Linked DNA regions of Homo sapiens: region 1 is linked to region 2. The links are contacts of gene promoters, found by promoter capture Hi-C in human tissues and cell types (Jung and others, 2019). All regions are on one chromosome and are shown on one strand. The core of a region is centred on a gene start or on the middle of the fragment in contact, and the rest is flanking DNA. Distances in the headings are between cores, read along the strand shown.

Evidence for each region. Contacts are between HindIII fragments. The study calls those that stand out against the background at their distance.
Region 1: a fragment that was not itself captured here is called in contact with the fragment with the promoter of GLRB in region 2 in 2 of the 25 tissues and cell types used here (hippocampus and mesenchymal stem cells).

What each region holds. Positions count from the first base shown.
Region 1 is chr4:156,978,861-156,985,906 of GRCh38, forward strand. No RefSeq gene overlaps it. Among named protein-coding and RNA genes, the nearest start is that of PDGFC, 11 kb to the left of the region's middle. The HindIII fragment of the contact is 5,507 bases long and covers 1,093-6,599 here.
Region 2 is chr4:157,070,876-157,077,447 of GRCh38, forward strand. GLRB (glycine receptor beta) reads left to right here and starts at 5,275. Exons shown (of 10, transcript NM_000824.5): 1 at 5,275-5,422. RefSeq lists a silencer at 2,382-2,676. The HindIII fragment of the contact is 3,601 bases long and covers 4,383-6,572 here.

The sequences.
Region 1 (7,046 bases), core at 2,596-5,095, 93 kb before region 2:
CGTGTCTTAAAAAACACATTTCAAACTTATTAAGTATACATTTATATTAAGCATTTGGTGTTTATTTTATGACTACACACAATTCCAGTCATAAATATGTAACTTAAAATTCTATGGCCAATCACAAAAAATAAATCATAGTGATTTTGTCTGATATCCAAAGAAGGATGCCTCAAGCATACAGGAAACAGGCATTCGGTCAATGAAAACGTCGCAATACTGTATCTCGATTGAATACTCTCTTTAGTGGGTCTAGAAATGAAAAATTAATCTTCTGAAACCTTGTGAAGGAAAAATGATTATATGGTGCCCTTTGTTAGCAGTAAAACCTTGCCGTAAAATCACCATTAAAGTGTTGCTGGTTCTGACAACTTATGATGAAGGAAACACAAAAGGTGTATTCAAATACGTTTCTGAAGGACAATAACAGGAAAAATCAAAGTTAGTGCGATGACTGGCTATTTTCTTGGTGAAGGTGAGATTGTAAGGGGGAGGCAGTTCTGTTACTACTAACCTTGAGAGTATCTTGAACTTTATCAAAATAGCTATTTGTCAGAAACATTAAAGCAACCTGTTGAGCCCAAGAAGTTACAGTGGAAGTAAAAATGCATTATTGTTGCCCTCACCATTTCTCCCGCTTATTTTTGCACATCCCATCAATCTGCATTTGCTTTTTCCCATGTTAAGTATACACCCTATCTTCTCCCATGATCTATCTATTCCTTGCACAAAGGCCTCCCAACTGCTTTCTACCTAGGCTACTTTTATGCTTCTCCAAACTGTCATCAGATTATCAGCTTGATCTAGTTAAAACAAAAACCTGATCAGGATGCCCTACTCCAAAGTTTTCAGTCTTCCTTTGCCTGCAGAATAAAATCTATACTCCTAGCAATGATCTGCTCTTCCTTAAGTGCCCAAATCTCACACTCTCTGAGTGTCTTGTAGTTTCCTGACATACGGCAACTTACATGTTCCTACTTAGTTTTTGCATCTTTTCTTATGCTCCTTCCACAATGATGCATAACCCAATATATTATATAAGTCTATTCTATTTTGATTTTTTTTTTTTTTTTAGAGTCTCACTCTGATGCCTAAGCTGGAGTGCAGTGGTATGATCTGGCCTTGCTGACTGCAACCTCCGCCTCTGGGTTCAAGTGTTTCTCATGTCTCAGCCACTGGAGTAACTGGGATTACAGGCCTGTGCCACCACACCCGGCTAGCTTTTGTATTTTTAGTAGAGGTGAGGTTTGACCACGTTGGACAGGCTGGTCTCAAACTTCTGGCTTCAAGTGATCTGCCTGCGTTGGCCTCCCTAAGAGCTGGGATTACAGGCGTGATCCACTGCACCTGACCCTATTTTGCTTTTTATTCATCTTCTTTTTTCCCAGCACTTAACATATTGCACTTATCAAATAATAATTGCTAAGTCTCCCCATGTGCCAGGTACTGTCCTAAGGACTTCATGTATATTCACTGCTTTATTCTCACAACAAACATATGAAATAGATATTATAAAATCATAATAGTTTTATAGCGGAGGAAAGTGAGCTACTGAGGGCTAAGCATTTCATTTACAACCACACAAGTGATAAGTGGCAGAGCTGGGTTTTTAGCTTGTATAGTTCATGCACTTGACCATTACATCACTCTGCCTCATGTAACAGAGGGTGTTCAACTAGTATTTGGAGGCAGTGTAGACTCCCAGCCAAGATCCAAGCACTGGAGTCAAACATAGAAGCTAACATCTTAGCCCCTTACCTAAACTGAGGAAACAAATACCAGCAATCATATTCCCCAGCATGAGACCCACCATCACTACAAACTGATAATAACAGAATCTACTTCAGATATAATAAGAATTAAATGAGACAAAGTATGTGAAGCCTTTGACACAATGACCTGTGTGTTTTAAACATGCAGAACATGTAATGGATTGTGTAATTGTATTCTTTTTAATTAGGAGATAAACTTTTTTCTGTTTTAACATTTCTGAAATTCAGATAGCTTACATTCAATGTAAGAAGAAACTTAACAACTATTTTTTTTTCTTCCCAAAAGGCTATTTTAATTAAATGGGGAATTTTATAAGCAATGGTATCTTAAAATCAATATAATACTAAATAATTATTTTTACTAAATAAAGAAGCCTTTTTCTATAGTCCATCCTATTTTTTGCCATCACAATACCAGGATGAGTCTCTCTTAACCTTCTAAAAATTTTGTATGCCAATCCTCAACCTCACTGCCCAATATTATCGTTATATTTTATAGCTTTGCTGATATACCTCCCTGCAATTGATTACAAAATCTTTGACAGCAGAAATTTTCCTTTCCTCTTTTTGTTTTAATCTGCCAACCATCTCTCCTCCTCCTCCTCCTCACTCCAGTGTTGGACATTGTATATGTGGTGCTCCACGTTTAACATGCATTTTAATTATTTTTTGAGTGAAATTAACAAAAATATGAAGTCACCAAAATGCAGATATACCCACGCTAAATCTTCATGGAAGAAAAATAGAAGGAAGAGCAGCAACATCTGACATAATTAGGGTGACTGGAGCCATGTGGAGTTCATTTTCTTGCTTGGCTGTCAGTCAAAGTTGGGGATCTTGTAAAAGGAAGCTCTAAATTATGGAAAACAGCAGTCAAGCTGTACTGAACCTCTAAGCTCACACATAAGTGAAAATTATGCATGTAACTCCATTTTTTCGGTGAATTGGAAAGAGGATCCAGTAGGTACTTTCCAAAATGGAAGCAATGCTGTGTTTGTCTTTTCATAAATACTGTGTTAACATTCTTTCCAATATTACAAGATTATTTCTCAGGACTGGCAAACAGCCCATGCTCATATTGTCTGACTGGTTTAAATAGAGTTAATTCTTTTTGATAGAGAAATCTTACATAGCAGATGGTTCACAAGTCTCTGTCTATTTAGTAACCAATCTGTCATATCCAAGATGTCATCATTTTGGAAAATAACTTCTATGAAAGTATCTTCTTCATGTTTTGAAAATATGACCTCAGATATAATTCTTTTTTATTAGTTTTGAAGTTTTCATGTTACAGTTTAAAATGTATATTTGTGTGTGAATGTGGTCTCTAAATAATTGATGCCTATGGCTGCCTGGACAGAAGAAATTTTAAGAGCCACGAAGCTCACATGGGATATGAAGTGTTGCGGTTTTATGACTATTCATACCTAAAGTAAATTAGTTAAATGACAATTTATTTTACATTTCATGTGCTTTTAGAAATTACTTTTACTATGATATTAGACTTCAGATCTGAGTTAATGTCAAAAAAATAGAAAAACTGCTATGGGATGAACCAAACATGCCACTTTTTTCCCCTATCTGGCAATGATTTATTATTTTGATATATTGATATTTTATTATACTGAATAAATAAATTCATTGCAGAGTAGTAAAAACTACATTAATGAGCTCAGATAAAATATAACTACTTAATGACTTTTCAAGCTCATAAATATTTATTCTATTAAGCATGATATAAAATACTGGTTATGATGATATTTTTCTTATCCCTTAGCAAGTTTCATCTGATACATTTTATATGCAGAAATGACACATTTGCAGCTGACATGGTATGGAGTTTTTACCACTACTCCATTTAAATGTCCCTCATGAAATGATCAGGCAAAAAGCTTCATAGGGAAAAGCTAGCACATATTTTTTAAGTGAGAGTGAGTTTTCATTAGTAATTTAATTTTGAAAGTTCAAAAAACGTTTCAAAACATATCAATTGTTGGTTCAAAACAATGGACACCACGGTACCCTGGAGAGTACTCACAAGCAGAAATTCTGAGTTCTATCCCAATTAGATATGTGACTTTAACAAAAAGAAGAAGAAGACAAAGAAGAACAACAACAAGAACAACAACTTTTCTGGTCCTTGGTTTCTATCACTGCAAACATGTAATTCACCCTGGTTGATTTCAAGATGCCTTCCATTTCCAACATCTTCTAATTCAATTTGTAATTATTTGTTTTCTACCAAAATATTCTCTCATTTTTTTTTGCAGAAAGATAATTGCTAAAGGCAATATTACTTGGGCCTTGAAGACATTTCTGGCCAGACGAAGAGTATAGATAACTCTAAAAATATTAAAAATTATTTAAAACAAGGAAATGAACAAAAGCTTATATAGGAGCAGGGAAAAGAATGTGGAATCTAAGAAAGAAGAATGGAAGGAAGCTCTCAAGGAAGAAGGATAGATTTTCTAGTCAAAATATGCCCTTTTTAAGAAAAATCTGTTATCCCAATTATTCTTTAAGTGTTTAACAATTTAGGATTTTTATGTTGTCTTTAGTCATTATCCTTTCATAAAAATATGAGTTATGTCAGTGGCCAATTTCTGTTTTGGCCTGTGCTGGTGGCCCTGCAGGAACAAGACTATATTGTTTGAACTCCACAGAGTAGTGTAAAAGGATATTGATTGATGGATCTGTCTATTCTTCTATACATATGCAAATTATATTTGCATTAATATTAATATTTTCTAGATACAAAAGAAAATATTTTCTGTATCATTATATGATAATAATAATAAATATTAATCGTTTCTAGATTTAAATGTAAATTAAACACACTACAGTTATTAAAACTGATCTCATGATGTGCTGCTATGAATTTGTTGTTTGCCTTTCTAACACTGTGCTGTTATTCACATTGATAACACCAGGAGGCACATAGAGGAGACTCTGCATCTGTTACTATGGTGACTATTAGGCATATTTTAAAAGAAGTGCAACCATCATGTATGCATAAACTTAAAATATTATTGTCCAGCTTCTTTAGAATTGTTGAGAATTAGACATCATATTAAAAATATTTTTTGAAGTCATATGTTTTCTGTTTTCCTTCTCAAAGAAAACATAGCTAATTTCAACAATACAGACAAATAAACTGAGTTTTTATGGATAGTAAATCACATCCTCTGTTTTTCTCTAAAAATATTCAAATTATTATTTTGTATGTAGGCTTGGGAGATAGCCACATCTGTCTCATATCATTAACTTTGCCACTTATTTGATGTGTATTGTAATCTGTAACATAAAAGGAATCATAGACAGGAATTTGAATAAATAAGAGATATATTTGGTTTGAGTATACTAACCAAAATTATTTTTAGAATGAGGAGACAGATAAAATTTTACTTCGTAGCATCTATTTGAATTAAAGTGTCATTATTAACTTCTTGGATATTTCTTTTCACATCATGAATCATAATAGCATATTGATACTGATGTATTCTGAGCTTGCATTTCTACTATTTTATTTACTCCTTTTCTTCAACAAGTACCAACTATGAATATCAGGCGTTGTGTTAGGTTCTGGGAGACAATGGTGATAGAGTAGATGGAGAAAAGAAAAGGGCCCAGGAATAGCCTCGAGAATATCTAATATGCAGACCTTGGGTCAAGAAGAATGATTAAGTAAAAGGGACTAGGAAAAGCCAACTCTACGGGGTAAAATGAATACAGGAATGTGTTGTAATAATAAAAACAGGACAGTGAAAGGTGAGAAAAAAAAGTGCATTTTCAGTAGCCAGAGATGTGGAGTGTATCTAATAGAGAATAGTGAAAATAGAAAAATTATACAGTAGATTTGGAAACATAGAAGTTATTGGTGACCTTGACAAAAGATGTTTTAGTGGTAACGTAATAATTGGAGCTAAAATGAAATGAGAATGAAGAGTGACTTGCAGATGTTATAAAAATAATTTAAAAAAAGGCCGGGCGGGGTGGCTCACGCCTGTAATCCTAGCACTTTGGGAGGCCAAGGCGGGTGGATCACGAGGTCAGGAGATCAAGACCATCCTGGCTAACACGGTGAAACCCCGCCTCTACTAAAAATACAAAAAAAAATTATCCGGGCGTGGTGGCGGGCACCTGTAGTCCCAGCTACTCGGGAGGCTGAGGCAGGAGAATGGCTGAACCCGGGAGGAGGAGCTTGCAGTGAGCCGAGATCGCGCCACTGCACTCTAGCCTGGGCAACAGAGCGAGACTCCATCTCAACAAACAAAACAAAACAAAAAAACAAAAAACAACACATTAAAAAAAAAAAACCCTTGGCTGGGCACGGTGGCTCACGCCTGTAATCCCAGCAGTTTGGGAGGCCAAAGCTGGTGGATCACCTGAGGTCAGGAGTTCGAGACCAGTCTGACCAACATGGTGAAACCTCATCTCTACTAAAAATACAAAAATTAGCCGGGTGTGGTGGTGTAGGCCTGTAATCCCAGCTACTCGCAAGGCTGAGGAAGGAGAATCGCCTGAACCCAGGAGGCGGAGTTTGCAGTGAGCCGAGATCATGCCATTACACTCCAGCCTGGACAACAAGAGTGAAACTCTGTCTCAAAAAAAAAAAAAAAAAAAAAAAAAAAATATATATATATATATATGTATAATTCAATGAGATTTAAAAAAATTTTTTGTTGTTGTTGCTTGGAGAAAGAGTTTCCCTCTTGTCACCCAGGGTGGAATGTAATGGTGTGATTTCAGCTCACCTCATCCTCTGCCTCCTGGATTCAAGTGAATCTCCTGCCTCAGCCTCCCAAGTAGCTGGAATTACAGGTCTGCGCCACCACGCCTGGCTAATTTTTGTATTTTTAGTAGAGATGTGGATTCTTTATGTTGGCCAGGCTGGTCTCGAACTCCCGACCTCAGGTGATCCGCCCACCTTGGCCTTCCAAAGTGTTGGGATTACAGGCATGAGCCACCATGCCAGAACTGAATTATAATTTATATATAGCTAAATGCATGCATTTTAAGTGTATAATTTTATGAGTTTTGTCAGATGTATACAATGATGACACAGAACATTTCTATCACCCCAACATTTGTTTTTGTCATTTTGTAGTCGTTACCTCCTTTTATCTGATGCCCAGGCAACTACTGATTTGCTTTTTATCAATATAGATTAGTTTGCATTTTCTAGAATTTTGTGTAAGTAGAATCACACCATATGTATTCTTTTGATTATGGCTTTTTTTCACTCTGCATAATGATTCTAAGTTTCATCATTGT
Region 2 (6,572 bases), core at 4,025-6,524:
CCTCAATTAAATGAAAGACAGTGTGACACTCAAATTTGTAAATAGAAATATATTATCCACATTTCTTCTCTCTTCTCATATCATCACAATTAGTGTGGTATTTTGGTTGAATAGTATTGTCATTCTGTGTATCATAAGACGTTATTGAATATACAATTTAGAGTCACACAAAAATATTTTAAGGGCCAGCTTCCAGAATCAGACATATTTAGATACATATCTCTCTCAATCACTTACTAGTAAACTGACTTCGGAAAAATTATATGATGCCTGGGGATCTTTATCTGTAAATTGCAACAAGAAAAGTATTAACCTCATAAAGGTATTGAGGAGATAATAAATTCAAAGTACTTTGCTGTCAATCAATGACGATGGTCATTACTATTTTTGCTATTATTAATATGATGAACAGAAAAAATATTAAGTAAAAAATGACTCACATATTAGTTCATCTTTAAGGCCAAAATATTAAGTAAAAAATGACTCACATATTAGTTCATCTTTAAGGCCAATCTGGAATTGGAGGTAAGAACAACCCCTTTGATTTCAATTTTTTAATTTGCATTCAGTATTCTGTACAAAGACATCTACGACTAAAAACTAAGCTTCTTTCACTTGCCTATGTGCAATTGGAGTCAGTCTTAATGTTGTAAAGGACATGAAAGATGAAATAATCCTATCTCTTCCTCTTCCAAGTCTAATATTCCGGATAAGTTAAATTCCCTTTCTGAGCCTCTCCTCTGGTTTCTCATCAAAAATATGGATATGAAAATAACTTGCAAGTAAATTTTGAAGTTTTAAAACCATAATGTAGAAAATTTTTTTGCAATTAATAGGTAATCAATGAAAGATGGCTATTATTGTTTAAAAGTTAGTTTAAAAATAAGAGATTGCAGAACATTTTAAGGATAATGTGCTATTTGAAGAAAACATATGGAAGTGATTTTATCAAATATCAAATAATGTTTTTATTATTCTAATAAGACTGGCTACAAATCAACATTTCCTAATGTAAGTTTTACTGTCTTTCAAGTTTTATGAACAGTGTTTGCAAGATGCTGAATTACTGTCCCACTATTCTCATCATCTTCTGCTGTAATTTTCTCTTTATTTATATTTATTCTCCCATTATCTATTTTGATAAATGTTTAAAGATGATGATTTGGAGGAGAACCATATCTAAAACAGCTGGACATACTTTTATTGAAAATATCTGATCATTATAGTGGTAAATGGACTGAAAGTTTGATGAAAAATTTCATGAATGACTATTACAGTGCAGGCTGTCATTAAAGAGGAAGTATGACTCATGTAGAGAGAATACAGAAAAAAATAATTTATATCTTTAAACCATGTTGTAAGGCTATTTAGGCAATGGCAACAGTGATGAGTACTTATGTCACACACAAAAAATGATTTGGTGAGAATACTCTCTCTGTATCCAAAGTTTGATTTCTTAGTATAACAGAAGATATTTAGGGCTGTATTTAGGTTTTATTATCAAGTCAAATAAAATAAATATATTATAGGCCAGGTGAAGATGGATGCATAGAAAATAGAGTCCTTAGCTACCCAGGAGTCTGAGGTAGGAAGTTTGCTTGAGCATGAGAGGAGGAGGTTGCAGTGAATCAAGATCATGCCACTGTACTCCAACCGGGGCGACAGAGCCAGACCCTGTTTCAAAAAGAAAAAAAAAAAGAAAAAAGAAAGAAAAGAAGGTTAGAAGGTTTTTAGTGTTTAGATGTAGGCCTACAAAATGTTCTCAGTGTAGACGTACAAGAAAGAAATGGATAACAGGGTCCCAGTAAGCAAAAAATGCATGTACCCACAAAAATTAAAAATAATTAAAAAAAAAACAGCCACAACAAAATTCTATCATTCCATTAAGCAAATAAAAACAAGCAAAAATAGGGGAGGTTAATTCTTTGTGACTTTTCTTCTCTGCAGCAGATTTTTAACGTCAATTAACCTGTTTATTTCTTGGTACAATCCTGCAAATTATGCATTGTCATTTTCATTTTACTAATAAAGAAACATGAAATTTGAAGAAATTAATAAATGAGGCCAAGATTTACACATTCATTCAACACTATTCTAGGTGTGTGGGCAACATCAATGGACAAAAATAGATACAAATCTCTGCCTTCATGAAGCCTACATTTTAGCAAGGAAACAGAGGCCACAAACTGTAAGTATATTGTATGATGAGTTGGGAGGTAATAAGTACTATGAAAACAAAAAGAAAAGCAGGCAAAGGGGGATTGGAAATCTTTGGATGGGAGATGGTTTGCACTTTTAAATAACATTGGATAAATCTCTGTGAGACGGTGACATCTGGGTTGATGTTGAAGATATGAGGGAGTCAGTCATGTGGTGGTCTGGGGGGAAAGCATTTTAGACAGAGGAGCCAATAACCTAAGATGGGACCATACCTGGCTTTGGCATGTTGGAGAAGCAGCAAGATCAGCAGGGCTGAAAGAGAGCGAGCCATTAGGAGAGAAGAAGTCAGAGTTAGGGGGAGGAGATGCATAACAATTGAAGGTTTGTAGACCATTGTAAACACTGGTTTATAAAATGGGGACTAACTGCTGGGTGTTGAGTTGAGGAATGACACAATATGACCTATGACATGTTTTAAAGGGATCACTCTGGCTACTGTTTTGAGATTACTCAAGGGTAGGAGAGGACAATGATAGAGGCAGGGTGAGTAGCTAAAGTGCTATTATAGTAATCTAACGTAGAGATGAAAGTCACTGAGTCTAGGTTGGCTGCAGTAAAAATCATAAGAAGTAGCTGAATTCCTGTTGTCATTTGAGAGTAAACAGGATTTCCTCAGAGATTTGGTTGTGAGGTGTGAGAAAAAGAGCGGAATCAAGAACAACTTCATGATTTTTAGCCTGACCAACCCTAAGGATGAGGTTGCCGTGAACTGAGAAGGAGAAGGCTGAATGTGGGGCAGATTTTAGGGAGAACCATAGCTCAGTTTGGGACACACTGAGTTTGACATGTTTATTAAATACGCAAGTTGAAATGTTGAAAAGGCAGTTAGATAGATGAGTCTGGAGTTCTGGAGAGATGTCTAGTCAGGAGAAGTACATATGGGAGCTATCAACATGGTGTTTAAAACCTTGTGACCAGATGAAATTACTAAAGGAGTGAATATTGATAGAAATAAATAGAGAAAAGTAGATCAACACTTGACAGAATTGGGGAAAATAGGTTATTTCATGACATTATTTAGAAGCATCCCTTTTCACACTATGATATAAAAGTTATAGAAATATAGGTAAGCAGATCACTTTCATAGAAAAAAATTTTCAGAATTCTGAACTTGACCATTTTACAGGCTAGAAGAAGTGCTTTTAGGGCATCAACTATATTTCTTAACCTTTGGGCCAAAACCCTACAAACCCATCCAACCTGCTGGACTTGCTTTTCTTCTGAATAACCTAATTCTCCAATATAACATCCATGGATGGCACAGAAACAATACTAGGGAAGGTGAGCAAGTCTGTTGTAGGTATTTTCAGCATAGTTCTTCCAAATGTGGACATTAGAGTTTGTAAATAAAAGATGTTCATTTTATTACAGGAATCGGAATTCCTATTATTCTAAACTCTTAATAATTTCTTGATTAATTGAAAACTAAGTGTAAGGTTTTCGCCAACTTCTAAACTCCCCTGGCTGCATGAAAACTAATTCCTTTATCATTCTTCATATGACCTATTCACCAAAAGTTATATCTTATGAAACGTATATTATCAATATAGTTCTCTCTAATAAAGCATTAAAATCCAAAGTTATATCCTGATCCACTTTGGCGGGGGGGTCTTCAAACAGTACAGCTCTTTGAATAATGATCATTTTGTAATGTAAATAAGGTAATGATCACTTATTAATGATCACTACTCTTAGGCAGCAGAATATCTCATGAAGCTTATGGAACACGGTTATATGCAGGAAATATTCCTTCCCTCCATATGCTGCGGGTGGAAAAATTTATTAGTGGATACATCTGTGGGTCCACAATACAATGCTAAGTGATGCTCACTTGAGACAATGCTTTTTTAATAAAAAAAATCCATCAGGACCTGGTGCAGTGGGGTGGGGTGGCTCAAGCCTGTAAGCCCCCCAGCTTGGGAGGCTAAGGCAGGCGGATGGCTTCAGGCCAGAGTTGGAGACCATCCTGGACAACAAAGCCAGAGATGCTGTCTCTTAAAAAATAATAATAATAATTAGTGGAGCGCAATGGCCTGTCTGTTGTTCCAGCTACTCTACTAGGGAGACCGAGACAAGAGGATCTCTTGATTGCCCAGAAGTTCAAGACTGCGGTGAGCGATGACTGTGCCTCTGCACTCCAGCCTGGGCAACAAAGTGAGCTCCTGTTGCTTAAAAAATAACAATTAAAAAAAATCAATCAGGCATACATTCAAGAGGTAATAGGATAGCCTTATCTGTTATCTAAGGGCTGCATATCCAAGTAAGGGCTACTTCTTCACAAGGATGAGGACAACAGTATTTTGCTCTTATAAGGCAGAGACCCTGTCTGGTTCAGATATGCAAAAATCACTAATTTTGAATCTCTGGTAAATTTCTTTCAAGATCTGTAACTCTAAGTAAATCTCTTAATATAACTGAGTTTCAGATTCTTCATCTACAGAAGGGGATGACAAAACTTGCCCAGGAATGTGGTGAGGGCCACATGAGATAAGGCGAGTGAAAGGTGTTTTGCAACTGTCAAGTTCTGTACACATGTTAATTATGTAACAGATGTTAAACATAGTATTACCTGTATGACTATATTGTCAGTAATTTTGACCAATTTAAGCTTGCTCAGAAAGTTCAGGCTTTTAGAAATTGGAAGACCCGGAGATTAAGCTGGATGTCTGGGTTCCAGGCAAATGGTGAAATGACAGAAAATGTGTTTTGTTCGCTTTGACCCAAGAAGGTCATTTGTTGCTCTGTTGTTTGTTGCTAGTGGTCAAAAGCTGACCCCAAGCAATCCCAGCTCCTTGAAAGGTTTTTTCTTTTTGTACCGACACTATCATTCCCGCCCTTCGTCCCCAACTCCTTTAGTCCCCTAAGGAGTGAGGGGGGTACACATTTCTGCTCGGTAACCCCTCCAATGCCTGAAGGGGACGATGCCGTGACGTTGCTCTGTCGGGACACCTCTTCCCTCCCCCGCCCGCGGTCGCCAGGTTCCCCCGCGGCCCGCGCTGTCCCCGCTGCGGCCCCGACCGCGGCGCGCCACGGCGCAGGCTCCGCGGCCCGAGCAGGCGCGTCAGCCGAGCTCGGCGGTGGCGCGGGCGGCTGGGACGCAGCTGCCCCCGCTCGGCGCCCGCTGCACCCTTAGCAGCCACTGCCACCTGGGCCCGGAGCCTCCACGATCTCGCCCGGCGATTGTGGGCAGGGGCGCCTCCGGGTAAGTGCCAGGAGCTCCACTTAGGAGGAGGGGACGCGGGTTGGGGCGGCGACGGTGGTCTGAGGACGGGAATAGACGCCTTTGCGGAAACAGCGGGTCAAGCCCGGGGCGGCGGAGCGCGAGGAGCACTGCGGCGTGCCCGGGAGGACGCGCGCTGCCCTGCGCGGGAGAGGGGCGCGGGGCGCCTGGCAGCGGCAGCCGGGTCCCCGCTGCGGTGGCGCCCGCGGAGACGCTCCGGGTGGAGAGATGCAGAGGGCCGGGGTAATTAGGAAACGCAAGGTTGGCCAGGAGGGCTCCTTGCGTTGTTTTGTTTATGAGGATCCTCCAGTCAATGCAGCTGTCCCCCTTGAAAGATTGGGGGTGAGGACAGAGCAGAGTGGTGAATTTCTCTGTTTTTCGAAGCGTTAGGGGGGCTCGGCCCTCCTTTTTGCGGGGGCAAGGATGTGAAAGTGGGAGAAGTACCTGCTGCTGTGGGCAAGGTGTCTGGAAGCAGGTGCCGCTGTCGGATGGGGGAAGGGAGCGTCCAATGTTGTGAAGTTGCCAGAGGAGAACCTTGTGTTGTTGCTGTTGGTCTGATGAGCCCCCTCTGTTGTCTTCAATTTAAAGTACCCAGGGAGAAGCCCCTCTGGCTTGCCTGGAGTGTGTGTAAAAGATAAATATGGGGGGAAGAATCCTGGGGGGGGGGGGGGAAGATGAAAAACATGACATAAGGAGAAGCAAATTTCTGAGGGTGAGATGGGAATTAAGTTAGCGTTGAAGAATATGACAGGTCTTTTACTCTGCGGAAAACAATGAAAGAGAAACAATTTATGGTTTGGAAATGAAGGTTGCAGAAGAGTTTGAACTTCTCTAGTGTAGGTAGAGGCTTAATTATTTTTTATTTATCAGAATCTCTGGCAAGAATATGGTTCTGATTTGAGCATGAAAATGTTATTAAAATATGGCTAGGACGATAATTTGAAAAAAATGTAACAACACTTGTTTTATTTCTTGTTGTAGAATTTCTGAAGTAATCTTTTTGATGACAAATGTTAGTAGCAAATAAGTAAGAAAGCTTTAAAGCTAACTTAAGAGGCACCTTTTTGGGGCAAAAAGGTAGCTTGCCAATGTAATGTGTTTAAATAAAAAAAGCAATGAATTTTGAATGTGG